5 separate regions of the Homo sapiens genome follow, and regions 2, 3, 4 and 5 are each linked to region 1. Evidence: promoter capture Hi-C in 16 types of primary human blood cells and fetal thymus (Javierre and others, 2016). All regions are on one chromosome and are shown on one strand. The core of a region is centred on a gene start or on the middle of the fragment in contact, and the rest is flanking DNA. Distances in the headings are between cores, read along the strand shown.

Region 1 (2,635 bases), core at 47-2,546:
ACGCGCTCAGCGCCCGCGGTCTCTGGGCGTCCTCGCAGCCGGGAAGGGCCTGGCCCTCACTTCGGGGACGCCCGCTGCTCCACCTCCTCCCCGCAGGGGGGCCAAGGGCTCAGAAGGCCACGATGGCTGTGCTCCAGGGGTTCATGTCTCTCAGCACCGGCTTATCGCAGCAGATCTGCCCGGGCTCGGCGGCTTCCGGACCGCTCTCCTCTCCCTCCTCTTCCTCTCTGCCGCCCCCGGGGCTTTTCCGTAGGAGTCCCGAGAAACTGGAACCGAAGATGCTGATGAGGTTAGCCACGTTCCCGGTCTCCATCTCCTCCGCGTCGTCGTCCTCTCCTCCACTCGGCGGCTGCTCTAAGTTCCGGCGGGGCTTCTTGAGCGGGGTCGAGCCGGGCGCCGGGCAGCCCGCTGGGCCGCCGCCCACCCCCGCCGCGCAGCGCTTCCTGGGGCACACCGCGGGCGGCGCGGGGGGCTCGTCCTCCGCTGGTTGCGGCGCGCAGCAGCAGGCAGCGCGGGGGGTCGCGGCCGGTGTACCCGGCGGGTCCTCCCCGCCTAGGGGGCAGCCGCAGGGGCGGCGCGCGGCACGAGATACCTCGGGGAAGACGCCCCAGCCTCCGGCGGTACCCTCGGCTTCTCTGGCCGCCGCCTGGCGCGGCCCCTCCACGCGGCTCCAGGCAGCTTCCGTCGCGTCCGCCTCTCCGCCCTGAAAAACGTCCCCGACTCCAGTCACCGTGGCCACCGGCACCTCGTCCCCTACCCGCGGCGCGTCTGAGACGGAGGAGCGCTCCGGCTGCGGCTCGGTCTCCGGCCAAGAGGCACGAGCGGCGGGCGGGGGCGGCTCTCCCCAGCCGGCGGGTGGCCCGGCCGCCGGCTCCCCGGGCTGCTGCTGCGGTGGCGGCGCCGGGGTCCCAGCGGGACCGGCCAGGTAGAGGCCGGGGCACGGGTCGCTCAGGTAGACTTGGCGGGCGCTGCGCAGCACCAGCGAGACCAGGAGGTTCTTATGCAGCTTGATGCCGCCGCGCTGGACCCGCGAGTTGTAGATCTTGCCCAGAGAGATGCTGACGATGCGATGAGCCTCCAGCTTGAACTCCATCTGCTTCCCCTGCACAGGGCCGTCGGCGCCGGGGTGACACGTTTGGAAATTGGGAGGGAACGGGAGGCGCAAACAAGTCCGCCCCCTGGGCACACCCTCGATCACCTAAGACTCCGAAGAGAAACGACTCTGGTGACGCGCGCGCTGCTCTACTAACCTCTCCAAACAAGACAACTTCCCCGTTTCGGGTCCGGTCGCTAAACAGGGCAGCCTGGCTGCCCCGCGCCTTATATAGGCTTCTCGACCGCCAATCACGAAGGGCCGCCAACCGTTCCGGGGCTGGCCGGCGCGCCCTCGTGCGCCGCGCACGGCCAATCGGAGCCCGAGGAGGGGCGCCAGGGCCCGTTCGAACGTTAGTCCCGCGGAGCAGGCTCTTAAAGGGGGCGACGGCTTGCGGCCGCAGACCAGGCCCGTGGGGAGTGAATGTTCGGGACGGTGCTCGAGAGCGCTACTGTTTGGAGTTACAGATTCTGGCTTGTGCGATGGCTTGCCGGAACCAAAGCGAACAAAATATTCGAACTTTCTTCCGAACACGGTGGTGGACTCTGTTCTGCCATAAAGTCCTGATCCTTCCCTGATCGACTCCGCCCTCACCAGCCACACCACCGTTTCCAGGCCGGCCACACCTGTAAGCGACCCCCCTCAACCCTGGCAAAAATAGAGATGGTGGCCATACGCGGCGGAGGACACCCCTGGATAACAAATAGTATTACTGCAAAGTATTTGGCAATCATTATTTTTGGATGAGCCGCTTTCCCCGCTAGAGTCACATACACTCTTAGCAGCTGTCAGTTCTAACCCCAAAGAAAAGGGGGATTCTAAAAGTTTTTGCCTAGGTTTTTGGCTTCTTTTCAAGGAATCGTGTCTAGATACAAAGTTATTGGTTGTCCTCTAAAGCTGGCATCTTTCACTTTGTTCTCTAGATTCTAGAACAAACCCAGTTATCAAATAAGTTAAATGGAAGATGTTACAGGTTCTCCACAATGATTTTTTTTTCCTTTTTTTTTTCCATTTCCATTTTTCCATTACAAGGACTGACCAGTCCACCCTTGGAAAAATCGAGCAAGTTCTGAAAATAAAAAGAAAGAAGTCCTGTGTTCCCATGATGATGTCATAATTTCATTTCGTGTCAAGGTAAAAATATAGTGCTAGGGAGTTCCAGAATTTTCTGGTCAGTCAACAACTTAGTCCATCTACTGGTCCTTATAAGTATATCAGGACACAATTACCACGGGGTTGCCCAGGGTCCTGGACTGGAAACATGGAGTCACTTCCAGTTAGTTCCACCGAAGCTCCACCACAGACCTGCCTGAGGACTCTGGGTAAATAACCTCAGGCCGCTTCAGTGTCTCCACTGCTGAAAAGGGGGAAGTCACATACACATCTGCGTTATTGTACAGACGATAAATGACAACTTCTCAGCCACAATCTGAATGAGAAAACTAAGCACTGCTTTCTTGGAGTCCATGTGGAACCCTGGGCCTGATCCTGCCCCGGGGTTGGTCAAGCAATGAATTTATTTAGGAAAAATACCAGTGAAGA
Region 2 (2,635 bases), core at 79-2,578, 940 kb before region 1:
CTGCTAGTTTGAAATTTTTTCAAAATAAAATGTTAAAAGTACATATTTACATCAAGTGTTGGTAAGGATGTGGAGAAATGGAAATTTTCATACTCTGATAAAAGGAATGCAAATTATTGGTACAGTTCTTGGAGAGTAATATAATGATGTTTAATATTACATTGATATAATACTATTAATACAGTATGATGATGATGATATGATAGTAGTATCAGTAATCATCAATATATCTATACCTTATACCTTAGCAATTCAAATGGGATATGGGAAGAAAATAGTAGAATTTTGTACTTATCTTTTAAGAAAAAATTTACATTTGATAATGGGTATTACATGTTAATACAATAGGACATTTATATAATTTATAAATAGAGACATATTGAGGATAAGCAGTTAAGCTTTTTTATTGATGAGGCAACACAATCAGCATAGCAGGAGACCACTCCCCCTTAAGAAATTTAAGTATACATGAGGAGATTATAAATATATGTAAGAATATTAATTGCAGCATAATTTGTAATGGCAAAACTTTGGAAACATTTTAAATATTCATCAGTAAAAGAATACATAAATCAATTGTGTTTTATTAATATAATGGGATGTTAAATAGCAGTTAAGATGAATGAAGCGAAGCTGTAAGTACAGGTTTAGAAAATGTTGAGTGAAAAAACCAAGTCACAGAACCATAAGTCTATTCATATAAATTGTCTTATTCATTTGGCTGTTCCAACAAAGTACCATAAACTGGATGGCTTATAAACAACAGAAATTTATTTCTCACAATTCTGAAGGCTTGGAAGTCTAAGATCAGGGCACCAGCAGAGTCAGGGTCTGGTGAAGGTCCTCTTCCAGGTTGCAGACTGCTGCTGACTTCTAATTGGATCATGACACGGCAGAAGGAGAGCTAGCAGTTCTTGGACCTCTTCTTATAAAAGGCACTAATTTCAATCATGAGGCTCCACCCTTATGACCTGATCACCTCCCACAGGCCCCACCTTCAAATATTATCCCACCGGGATTAGGATTTCAACATATGCATTTTAGGGTGGACACTTTCAGTCCATTGCATAAATTTGGGCACAGAGAAAGACATGAATAGAAGGATAACAACGTGGAGAGACATAGGGAGAAGATGGCCATTAACAAAGCCAAGGGGGAGAGGCCTGGAACAGACTCCCCCTCACAGCCCTTAAAAGGAACCAACTTTTAAGACACCTTGATATCAGACTTCTAGCCTCCAGAACTGAGAGGTGAAATTTTTATTAAGTCATCCAGCTTATAGTACTTTATTATTACAGCCCTAGCAAACTAATACAACATTTATAACTTGGCAATTTTGTTATTTTTTTAAAAAGTATGTTTTCAACCAGAGGGAAAAAACCCTTCTTCCCTCAAAAATGTAAAATGAGGAACTAGAAGGGGTGAAGCTGATCTGCTATTTAATAGAATATCTTTATATATTTTAATAGTAAAGTTAAAATTTTGATCTGTTATCAAAGAGGTTTTTGTTTAATAAACCTGGTGGGTCAGTCTCATGGAGCAAGGGAAAACAATTCCCATGTGCTCAGAAGAGCATTTTGTAATTTCCTAATTAGGGATAAGAAAGACAATTCCCAAGTTTCCTTCAGAAAAGACTGGGGCAATAAACATAATTAACTCTAAGAGGTTTAATAATAAATCACCAAATCTCATGAGCATAATAAATACAACTAGGGAAGTATTTTAATATAGTCTCAATATAATAATCACAAATTCAACTTCAGAACAGTGTGAATTACAAATATAATGTGGATATTTTCTTGGCATAGATCTCAGGCCATGCTATTTTTAAGGTCATTTGTTATTGGAAGCAGAAGGGGCATGATAATATGTAACCTTAGTCCTGCTGACAGAATTTCAGCAAGAGTAACAATGTCCTCCTGCAAACTCTTGATGATACCTTGCTAGAGAAAAAATATGAAGCTGAATAAAGCACAGAATATGAATATGGCCCATGAGAAAACTTCTTTAAGACCACCTGTAGAATTCTGCAATCACATACGCAGGTTTTCTTGTTAGCAACATGCTGGTCTCTCTAATTCCCAATAGCATCTTGCTGTGATATTGTGAGCCTTTAGCATTTTGAATCTCTTGTCCTCACATGTTCAGAACAGTGCCCGGGATATGCCTTTGATAGGTGTCAACTGATGAATAAGGTGAGACAAACAGTTTGATATGAATCCATATTTATTGGATCTCATAAACCCAAAGCAAGCTTACTGACAAGTACAGCAGATGGGGTCAGGGTGGGGGCAGGAGGGTTGCTTTGTTGCCCAGGCTGGAGTGCAGTGGTGTGATCACAGCTCACTGCAGCCTCAAACTCCTGGGCTCAAGCAATCCTCCCTAGTAAGTCTATCGAGTTGCTGGGATTACAGGCATCAGCCACCATGCCCAACCAATCAGGTGATTCCTCTCCTCTGCTTCTGTGTTGGGCCTATAAAAGTCCATTGCTCACACTGTGCAGCACTCTGAACTTTTGGTTCTCAGTGATGCATGATTCCTGAGTCATTCTTTGCTCAAATAAACTGGTAAATTTAATTTGTCTAAAGTTTTTCTTTTAACACATGTAAAGTATTATTACAGAAAAAAGTGTAAC
Region 3 (2,635 bases), core at 57-2,556, 600 kb after region 1:
AATCATGATTAATCATTTTTGGCAAGAACACTGTAGGTAAGGAAACAATTAGACAAATTCAAATTGAGGGATATGTTATAAAACAGTTGGACTCTTAAAAAATACCAACAATGTGGAAGACAAAAAAGCTGAAGATACATGAAACTCAATGCTGTGTGTGGATCTTGATTGGTTCCTGGTGTGGGAGAAGAAAGCCATAAAGGACATTATTGGGACAATCAGGAAAATCTGAATGTATAGCCTCTATATTGTATAATAGTAATTGATGATAAATTTCCTGAGTTTGTGTAAGCTGATCTATTTAGGGATGAAGTGTTATGATGCGTATAAGTAATTCTTAAGGAATTCAGTGAAAATAAATTTAGAAAACCTCAGAAAGATATTATATTCATCATAGAAGCAGGAAGGTAGTGAAAAAATGTGGGATTGAGTTCTGTTTGACAGCAAATCAGGGAAATCGAGAAACACTGGTTGGAATTTAGAAAGAATTGGCAGGGAAAAACCAAGAAGAAGGCCTGTCCTGGCAGCCTGTTGTGGGGGCAGGGGGGTAGATGACCCAAAAGGAAGCTCAGGACTAAAATGTTGCTTTTGCCATTTATATTGTAGGAAGTCCCTAACTTACTCATTAGTATTCTTTAGTTGCTGTTGTTGTTTTTTTTTTTTTTTTTTTTTTTTTTTTTTTGAGACAGAATTTTGCTCTGTTGCCCAGGCTGGAGTGTGGTGGTGCCATCTCAGCTTACTGCAACCTCTGCCTCCCAGGTTCAAGCAATTCTCCTGCCTCGGCCTCCAGAGTAGCTGGACTACAGGCGCACACCACCACGCCTGGCTAATTTTTGTATCTTTAGTAGAGATGGGGTTTCACCATGTTGGCCAGGCTGGTCTCAAACTCCTGACCTCAGGTGGTCCACCTGCCTCAGCCTCCCAAAGTGCTGGGATTACAGGCGTGAGCCACCAAGCCTGGCCAGTATTCTTATTTCTGCCCTCACCATCCCTTACTTTTGAAGTCCCAGACTAAGTCCCCAGGATCAGTTACTAGAAGCTTATAGATGAGATAACAGCAGAAAGGGAAGGTGGATTTCTTGTATCTTAGTAAGAAGTTTGATGCATTTTCCTTGGGAATATTGTTTTTTATGTGATGATTAGTTTCTGTACGACCAAAATGCCATAAGCACAGTTAATTTATGAGAATAATCTCTATTAGTCTGTAGATCATATATCCTCAATAGGGGTGAAATTTTGTTTGAGGAAATTATAAAATCTTAGATTACAGTGGTTTGTGGTCTTTCAAAATTTAATAGCTATGCATTGTATCTGTGTTTTTAAAATTTCACGGGGAGGACGATTAGGAAAAAAAATGTCTGAAAAGACTGCTTAGGTAGGGCAATAAGGTCTGTATAGCTCTAGACCAATGTAAATGCAAAAAGACAGAGCTTCTCTATCCATAGCTTATTATCTCTATATTCAGAGACCCTTGAAATGTGCATACAGTTTTTTTAATAATAAGAAAAATGCTGTTTGTGTTATTTGCATAATGACAGGCCATTTTGGATATTCCATATTGTAGGGAAGCTTGGAAAGCACTTGGTGATTCAAGCCCCAGCCAAGCAATGCAGGAATATATCGCAGTAGTTAAAAAACTAGATCCAGGTTGGAATCCTCAGGTAAGACTTAATGATTATAAATAATACTTTCCAAAAACTTATGATCCTTCTCTGAAATAAATGTCTAAAACTAAACTTAGTTTTAAGTAACATGCTTAAAGTTTTACTTTCTTGAAATATTTTAAAGTTATTGTAATATTTATCTAATAAAATAATTGCTGGCCAGGTGTGGTGGCTCATACCTGTAATCCCAGCACTCTGGGAGGCCAAGCCAGGTGGTTCACCTGAGGTAAGAGTTCAAGACCGGCCTGGCCAGCATGGTGAAATCTCATCTCTACTAAAAATACAAAAATTAGCTGGACGTGGTGGTACACACCTGTAATCCCAGCTACTCAGGAAGCTGAGGCAGGGGAATCAATTGAACCTGGGAGGCTGAGGCTGCAGTGAGCCAAAATCAGGCCACTGCACTCCAGCCTGGGTGACAGTGTGAGACTCCATCTCAGAAAAATGAAAAAAATTAATAATAATTACTTAAATAGTAATATAACCAGCTACTGATGCTGAGAACTTCTCTGAGTTGCAGAGTTTTTGAAAGCAGAAAAATTTGAATTACATAAGAATTGGAAAGAGTTTAACTTGAGATTATCATGCTGGAAAAAAGGTTACTCTTGGATTTCGTTTTTATGATCACTTTCTATGCAAGGGCAAAATGCTTATTAGGGATAAAAGATGAATAAGACATGATTTCTGCCATTATGTAGTTTAAAGTGTAATAGAGAAGATAAAACATATCAAAATATATATCTTTAATAGTATAAAACAATAATAATGTAAATGCTAGGGAATCCAGCAGGAAAAGGGATTGCTTTGGACTTTGGAAGCATTGGATATTGTTCACTTAAATATACCCTGTTTTTCTCATATACTTATTGGAGAACATCTAGAAAGAATTTAATAAAGGTGAGGTTACTATTTAAGAATATTGTTAAATGATTAACAGGTATTTCAGTGAGATAGAGGTTGCATTGTACCAT
Region 4 (2,635 bases), core at 78-2,577, 580 kb after region 1:
CACCACGGAATACCACTCAGCCATGAAAAGGAATAAAACAATGTCTTTGGCAGCAACTTGTATGGAGCTGGAAGCCATTATTCTAAATGAAGTAACTCAGGAGTGGGAAACCAAAACCTGTATGTTCTCGCTTGTAAGCGGGAGCTAAGCTTTGAGTACATGAAGACATACAGAGTGGTATAATGGAGTTTAGAGACTCAGCAGGGGGAGGGTGGGAATGGGGTTAGAGATAAATAACCACATATTAAGTACAATGTACACTACTTGGGTGACAGGTGCACTAAAGTCTCAGAAGTCACCACTACATTATTCATCCATATAACAAAAAAAATTTATACCTCAAAAGGTATTGATACAAAAATTTTTTAAATGTCAATATTTCACAAAAACCTAAATTGTACTAAACCCAGTGCAGTTACTTTTGTAACGAGGAAAATATTTTGTCTGGTTGCCCTGACTTCAGTTATGCTACTGAAACAGTTATTGTGTCTGCAATTGGTGGGTTCTTGAACTCACTGACTTCAAGAATGAAAACGTGGACCCTCACGGTGAGTGTTACAGTTCTTAAAGATGGTGTGTCGGGAGTTTGTTCCTTCTGATGTTCGGACGTGTTTGGAGTTTCTTCCTTCTGGTGGGTTCGTGATCTCCCTGGCTTCAGGAGTGAAGCTGCAGACCTTGGCGGTGAGTGTTACAGCTCTCAAGGCGGTGCGTCTGGAGTTGTTCATTCCTCCCAGTGGGTTCGTGGTCTTGCTGGCCTCAAGAGTGAAGCTGCAGACCTTCGCCATGAGTGTCACAGCTCACAAAGACAGTGCGGACCCAAACAGTTAGCACCAGCAAGAGTTACTGCAGAGAGCAAAACAACTAAGCTGGAGACCTGAGCGACTTGCCGCAGCTGGCTCTTGGCAGCCTGCTTTTATTCTCTTATCTGGCCCCACCCACATCCTGCTGAGATTGGTCCATTTTACAGAGAGCTGATTGGTCCGTTTTGACAGGGTGCAGATTGGTGCATTTACAATCCCTGAGCTAGACACAAAAGTTCTCCAAGTCCCCCACTAGATTAGCCAGACACAGAGCACTGATTGATGCATTTACAAAGCCTGAGCTAGATACAGACTGCTGATTGGTGCATTCACAAACCTTGAGCTAGACACAGGGTGCTGATTGGTGCATTTACAATCCTCCAGCTAGACATAAAAGTTCTCCAAGTCCCACCTCCCCCCACCAACTCAGGAGGTCAGCCAGCTTCGCCTGGTGGATCCCGTGCCAGGGCAGCGGGCGGAGCTGTTCAACCAGTCCAGCGCTGCGTGCCTGCGGGCTCCTCAGCCCTTGGGCGGTAGATGGGACCGGGTGCTGCGGAGCAGGGGGCGGCACTCGTTGGGGAGGCTAGGGCTGCGCAGGAGCCCATGGCGGGGTGGGGGAAGGCTCGGGCATGGTGGGCTGCAGGTCCTGAGCCCTGTCCTGCAGGGAAGCAGCTGCGGCCCTGTGAGGATCCGAGTGCAGTGCCGGTGGGCCGGTACTGCTGGGGGACCCGGCCCACCCTCTGCAGCTGCTGGCCCAGGTGCTAAGCCGCTCACTGCCCGGGGCCAGTGTTTCCGGTCTGCCGCTCCAAGTGCAGGGCCCACAGATCCCATGCCCTCCTGGAACTCACGCTGGCCTGCGACCGCCACGCGCAGCCCCGGTTCCAGCCTGCTCCTCTCCCTCCACACCTCCCTGCAAGCAGAGGGAGCCGGCTCTAGCCTTGGCCAGCCCAGAGAGGGGCTCCCACAGTGCAGCGGCAGGCTGAAGGGCTCCTCAAGCACTGCCGAGGCCGAGGAGGTGCTGACAGCCAGCCCTCTGTGAGGGCTGCCAGTAGGTCGTCACCTCTCATTATGACTTTTGTTAATTCAGATGTTTAGATCAGTTCAGATGTTATGTTGGGAAGCATTTTACAACAATCACATATTTTTCTCTTTGCATTTCTTCTTGAAATACTTAGAACTGTAGTTTATAATGAATATAAACACTGGAAAATGCCACAACATTGTTGGGTAGTATTCTAATAACATAACATTCAGACCTTCTAGCAAGGTTAATAGAACTACTCAGCATCACTTAAACAAATTGCCAGTTTGAGGACTTATTTTGCTTCTAATTTCTTAGAACATGACTCATAGAATTTTATTTATTATGCATATCATGTCATCAATATTTATTTTACTTGCAAGAATGACTCATTGTTACCAGAAGATGGGGCTGTGAACACCATATGCAACATGGCCACCATCATGAGCCAGACTGATTAGATCTTCACTACTTCTTTCCTGCCTGCTCCTTTTTCTGCTCACTTTAGACTCCATTTGTCAGTGTTTCCTGCCATTGCTTTTCACTTGTTAGCGGGTTTGTTTGAATCAGTGTATGTTGACTGCTAAACTTCAATTCCTGCAGAACTGTAATACTTTCTTTTGACTTCCTGATTTCTTGGCTGATTTTTCTTGGGATTCAAAGAAACATAAACAGTTAAGCTTTGAACAACTCAGCAATAAGGGGATCGACCCCTAAGCAGTCAACTACTGTTGACTGCAAGCCATGCCAAGAACACAAACAGTTGAGTAACACATATTTTGTATATGTATTATGTACTGTCTTCTTGAAATAA
Region 5 (2,635 bases), core at 77-2,576, 540 kb after region 1:
TTTAGTAGAGACAGGGTTTCACCATATTGGCCAGGATGGTTTCCATCTCCTGACCTTGTGATCCACCCACCTCGGCCTCCCAAAGTGCTGGGATTAAAGGGGTGAGCCACCACGCCCGGCCAGAACCAATTTTTTACTGTTATCTTTGTTTACTTCACGGTAAGCTTTGCTCCATATTAGCCCCAAGGGAAGGCTGGTTGGGTAGCCCTTTGACTAAAAGTTTTGGATGATGATGGGAAAAGAGTAAAATCACACCATAGCCCAACAAACTCCTTAGAATCCAGTAGCACATATTTCTGTTCTAAACAGTAAGTGGTTGGCCAGCCCTTTGACTGAGCATCTTGCGCTAGCCCTGGCTTCCACCTTACTGGGCTTTGTATCTCTTAATCTCTTCCCTCTCTTTCCTATTTTCCCTGCCAGTTAGCACTCTTATATTGAATCATAGAATTTTAGAGGCTATAGGTGCTTTAGAATTAATTTAATCCAAACCTCTCATTTAATAAATGAGGACACGGAAGTCCTGAGAGGTGGGGCAATTTGCCTGAGACATCTCAGCAAGGCTATGACAGAGCTGGACCTAAAAATGAGGTTTTGCTTCCTAATCTAGGACTCCTGCACAAAGCTGTGCTGTTGCCATGGTTCTGAAACTAGCAAGTCAGACAGATTTGAGGTGCTTATGGATGGATGAATGCACAGCATCAAACAATAGCTCTGTCGATGAAAAGAAAACCTGGCTGATAATTGAAGCCGCTGAACCACAAGCGGGTGAAAGAAGTAAAAGGCTCTGTGGGCTGCTGCCCCACTTGGGAGATTGGGGGAGGAGGGCAGGAGGAGTTGAAAGTGGATGGACAGAGACTTGGGTGAGGCCCTGGCTCCACTGTGTCCCAGATGGATCATGTGGGAAGCCCTTTGGTTGCGTGACACTGTTGTAGGCACCCTGTGGATTTTACATCACCCAAAGCTATAAATGGTTTGCACGAGGGGAAAAAAAAAAAAGAATTACAGGTCTCCCACAGCCCACAAAAATATGCTCCACCTAAAAAGAAGCCCATAATTTGGCTGCATCCAGCCGGGTTAGACAAAATTGGAGCCAAGGTTGCCCTGGATTGTCCTGAGAGGTGGCCTAGCATTAGCAGGAACGAAAGAAATGTGAAATTGCTCACAATGGACTAGATTTTCTTCATAGGCAAAGCTCTAATAGTTACACAGCGAGACCCTTGGCATCAGCCAGGTTAGGTCTACTAGCTACATTAAAATCACTCCAAGCTATTATTTATAATTTCATACCATCTCACATTTGCAAATTGCCTAGTGACTAATTGAGGCAGTTTCTTACAACAATTCTGAGCGTGAGGTTCAGATTTTAACCCTTCTTTTACTAAGACACAAATAAATTGAGACAAATAATATACATCAACCATAAAAATACCTGAACAGTCTATTCATTTTGGCCATGGCCTGAGTTCTGTGACTTGGCCTGCTCTTGGGTGACCAAATGTTCCAGTTTGCCTGGGACCAAGGTGTTTCCTGGGATGTGGGACTTACAGTGCTAAAACCCAGACAGTACTGGGAAAACTGAGGCAATTGGTCACCTTAAACCCTGTGCATGGCACTAATACTTGGCAATTTCTATCTGCATATCTTAAATGAATATGGGTCTATATTTTTTTATCCTAATCTGTCTTATATGGCTGTGTTTAAGAAGGCAGAGCCTGAAACTGGGTTTTTTGCTGCCTTAAAATCCCTTAGGCCGGGCGCAGTGGTTCATGCCTGTAATCCCAGCACTTTGGGAGGCTGAGGCGGGTGGATCACCTAAGGTCAGGAGTTTGACACCAGCCTGGCCAACGTGGTGAAACCCCTTTTCTACTAAAAATACAAAAATTCCCCAGGCATGGTGGCACACGTCTGTAATCCCAGCTACTCGGGAGGCTGAGGCAGGAGAATCGCTTGAACCCGGGAGGCGGAGGTTGCAGTGAGCCGAGATCACACAACTGCACTCCAGGCTGGGTGACAGAGCAAGACTCCACCTCAAAAAAAAATCCCTTAAAAATAGTATTTACTAGTTGATTGTTTGTTGTTGCTTCATTTGAGGGTATTCAGATGCCTGCTACTGACCTCTGAAATGCTTTTGGTACTGTGTGTCAACAAAATGGCTTGAAGAAAAATGCAAGTAAGAGAATATGATTCTATTTTTATATTAAGTAATCCAACCTGGATACCATTCTCTGTCTCCTAGAATACCTTAGCCAAAAGTCACACTTTATATCTGAGATATTTTCTTTGACAGAAAAACGTTTAAACTTATACAATTCAGATGGCCACCAGTATAGATATAAAGAAACAATTTACCTCTGGCCAAGAAACCCCTTGAGTCAAAATCGTTTCCAGCTGGAATCGCAGACTATTTTATCACTAGCCAAGAGGAGATGAAAGGGCCATGCATGCCAACATTGTTATTAGTGGGATGCCATCAATTGGATAAAGCTTTCATTAGCATTACAGGATTGAAAATCCAAAAGGGTCTCAGTGAGGCAGTCACTGGAAAGGCCTAGTGGTGTGAGGCCTCAGGTCAATGGGCAAGCAGGCTCCAAACACACAGCAGGTAACAGTGAAAAAATCAGAGTGGGCTTTATCT

The links. The method cuts DNA at HindIII sites, captures the fragments that hold promoters and counts their contacts. A CHiCAGO score of 5 or more calls a contact.
Region 2: a fragment that was not itself captured here is called in contact with the fragment with the promoter of IER5 in region 1 in 1 of 17 cell types (non-activated CD4 T cells); the score reaches 6.3 in non-activated CD4 T cells.
Region 3: a contact is called between a fragment that was not itself captured here and the fragment with the promoter of IER5 in region 1, in 1 of 17 cell types (naive B cells). The highest score is 6.0, in naive B cells.
Region 4: a contact is called between a fragment that was not itself captured here and the fragment with the promoter of IER5 in region 1, in 4 of 17 cell types (fetal thymus, megakaryocytes, activated CD4 T cells and 1 more). The highest score is 7.7, in fetal thymus.
Region 5: a contact is called between a fragment that was not itself captured here and the fragment with the promoter of IER5 in region 1, in 1 of 17 cell types (naive B cells). The highest score is 6.0, in naive B cells.

What each region holds. Positions count from the first base shown.
Region 1 is chr1:181,087,361-181,089,995 of GRCh38, reverse strand. IER5 (immediate early response 5) reads right to left here and starts at 1,296. Exons shown (of 1, transcript NM_016545.5): 1 at 1-1,296. The coding sequence starts at 1,093. The coding sequence ends at 110. LOC124904465 (a long non-coding RNA gene) reads left to right here and starts at 1,495. Exons shown (of 2, transcript XR_007066762.1): 1 at 1,495-1,721; 2 at 2,126-2,199. RefSeq lists silencers at 358-577, 778-937, 1,248-1,517. The HindIII fragment of the contact is 13,735 bases long and covers 1-2,635 here.
Region 2 is chr1:182,032,293-182,034,927 of GRCh38, reverse strand. No RefSeq gene overlaps it. Among named protein-coding and RNA genes, the nearest start is that of ZNF648, 28 kb to the left of the region's middle. The HindIII fragment of the contact is 1,856 bases long and covers 401-2,256 here.
Region 3 is chr1:180,491,295-180,493,929 of GRCh38, reverse strand. It overlaps ACBD6 (acyl-CoA binding domain containing 6), which reads left to right. Exons shown (of 8, transcript NM_032360.4): 3 at 1,565-1,661. Among named protein-coding and RNA genes, the nearest start is that of ACBD6, 10 kb to the left of the region's middle. The HindIII fragment of the contact is 530 bases long and covers 1,042-1,571 here.
Region 4 is chr1:180,507,664-180,510,298 of GRCh38, reverse strand. No RefSeq gene overlaps it. Among named protein-coding and RNA genes, the nearest start is that of ACBD6, 6.4 kb to the right of the region's middle. The HindIII fragment of the contact is 2,352 bases long and covers 152-2,503 here.
Region 5 is chr1:180,547,204-180,549,838 of GRCh38, reverse strand. No RefSeq gene overlaps it. Among named protein-coding and RNA genes, the nearest start is that of OVAAL, 10 kb to the left of the region's middle. The HindIII fragment of the contact is 2,320 bases long and covers 167-2,486 here.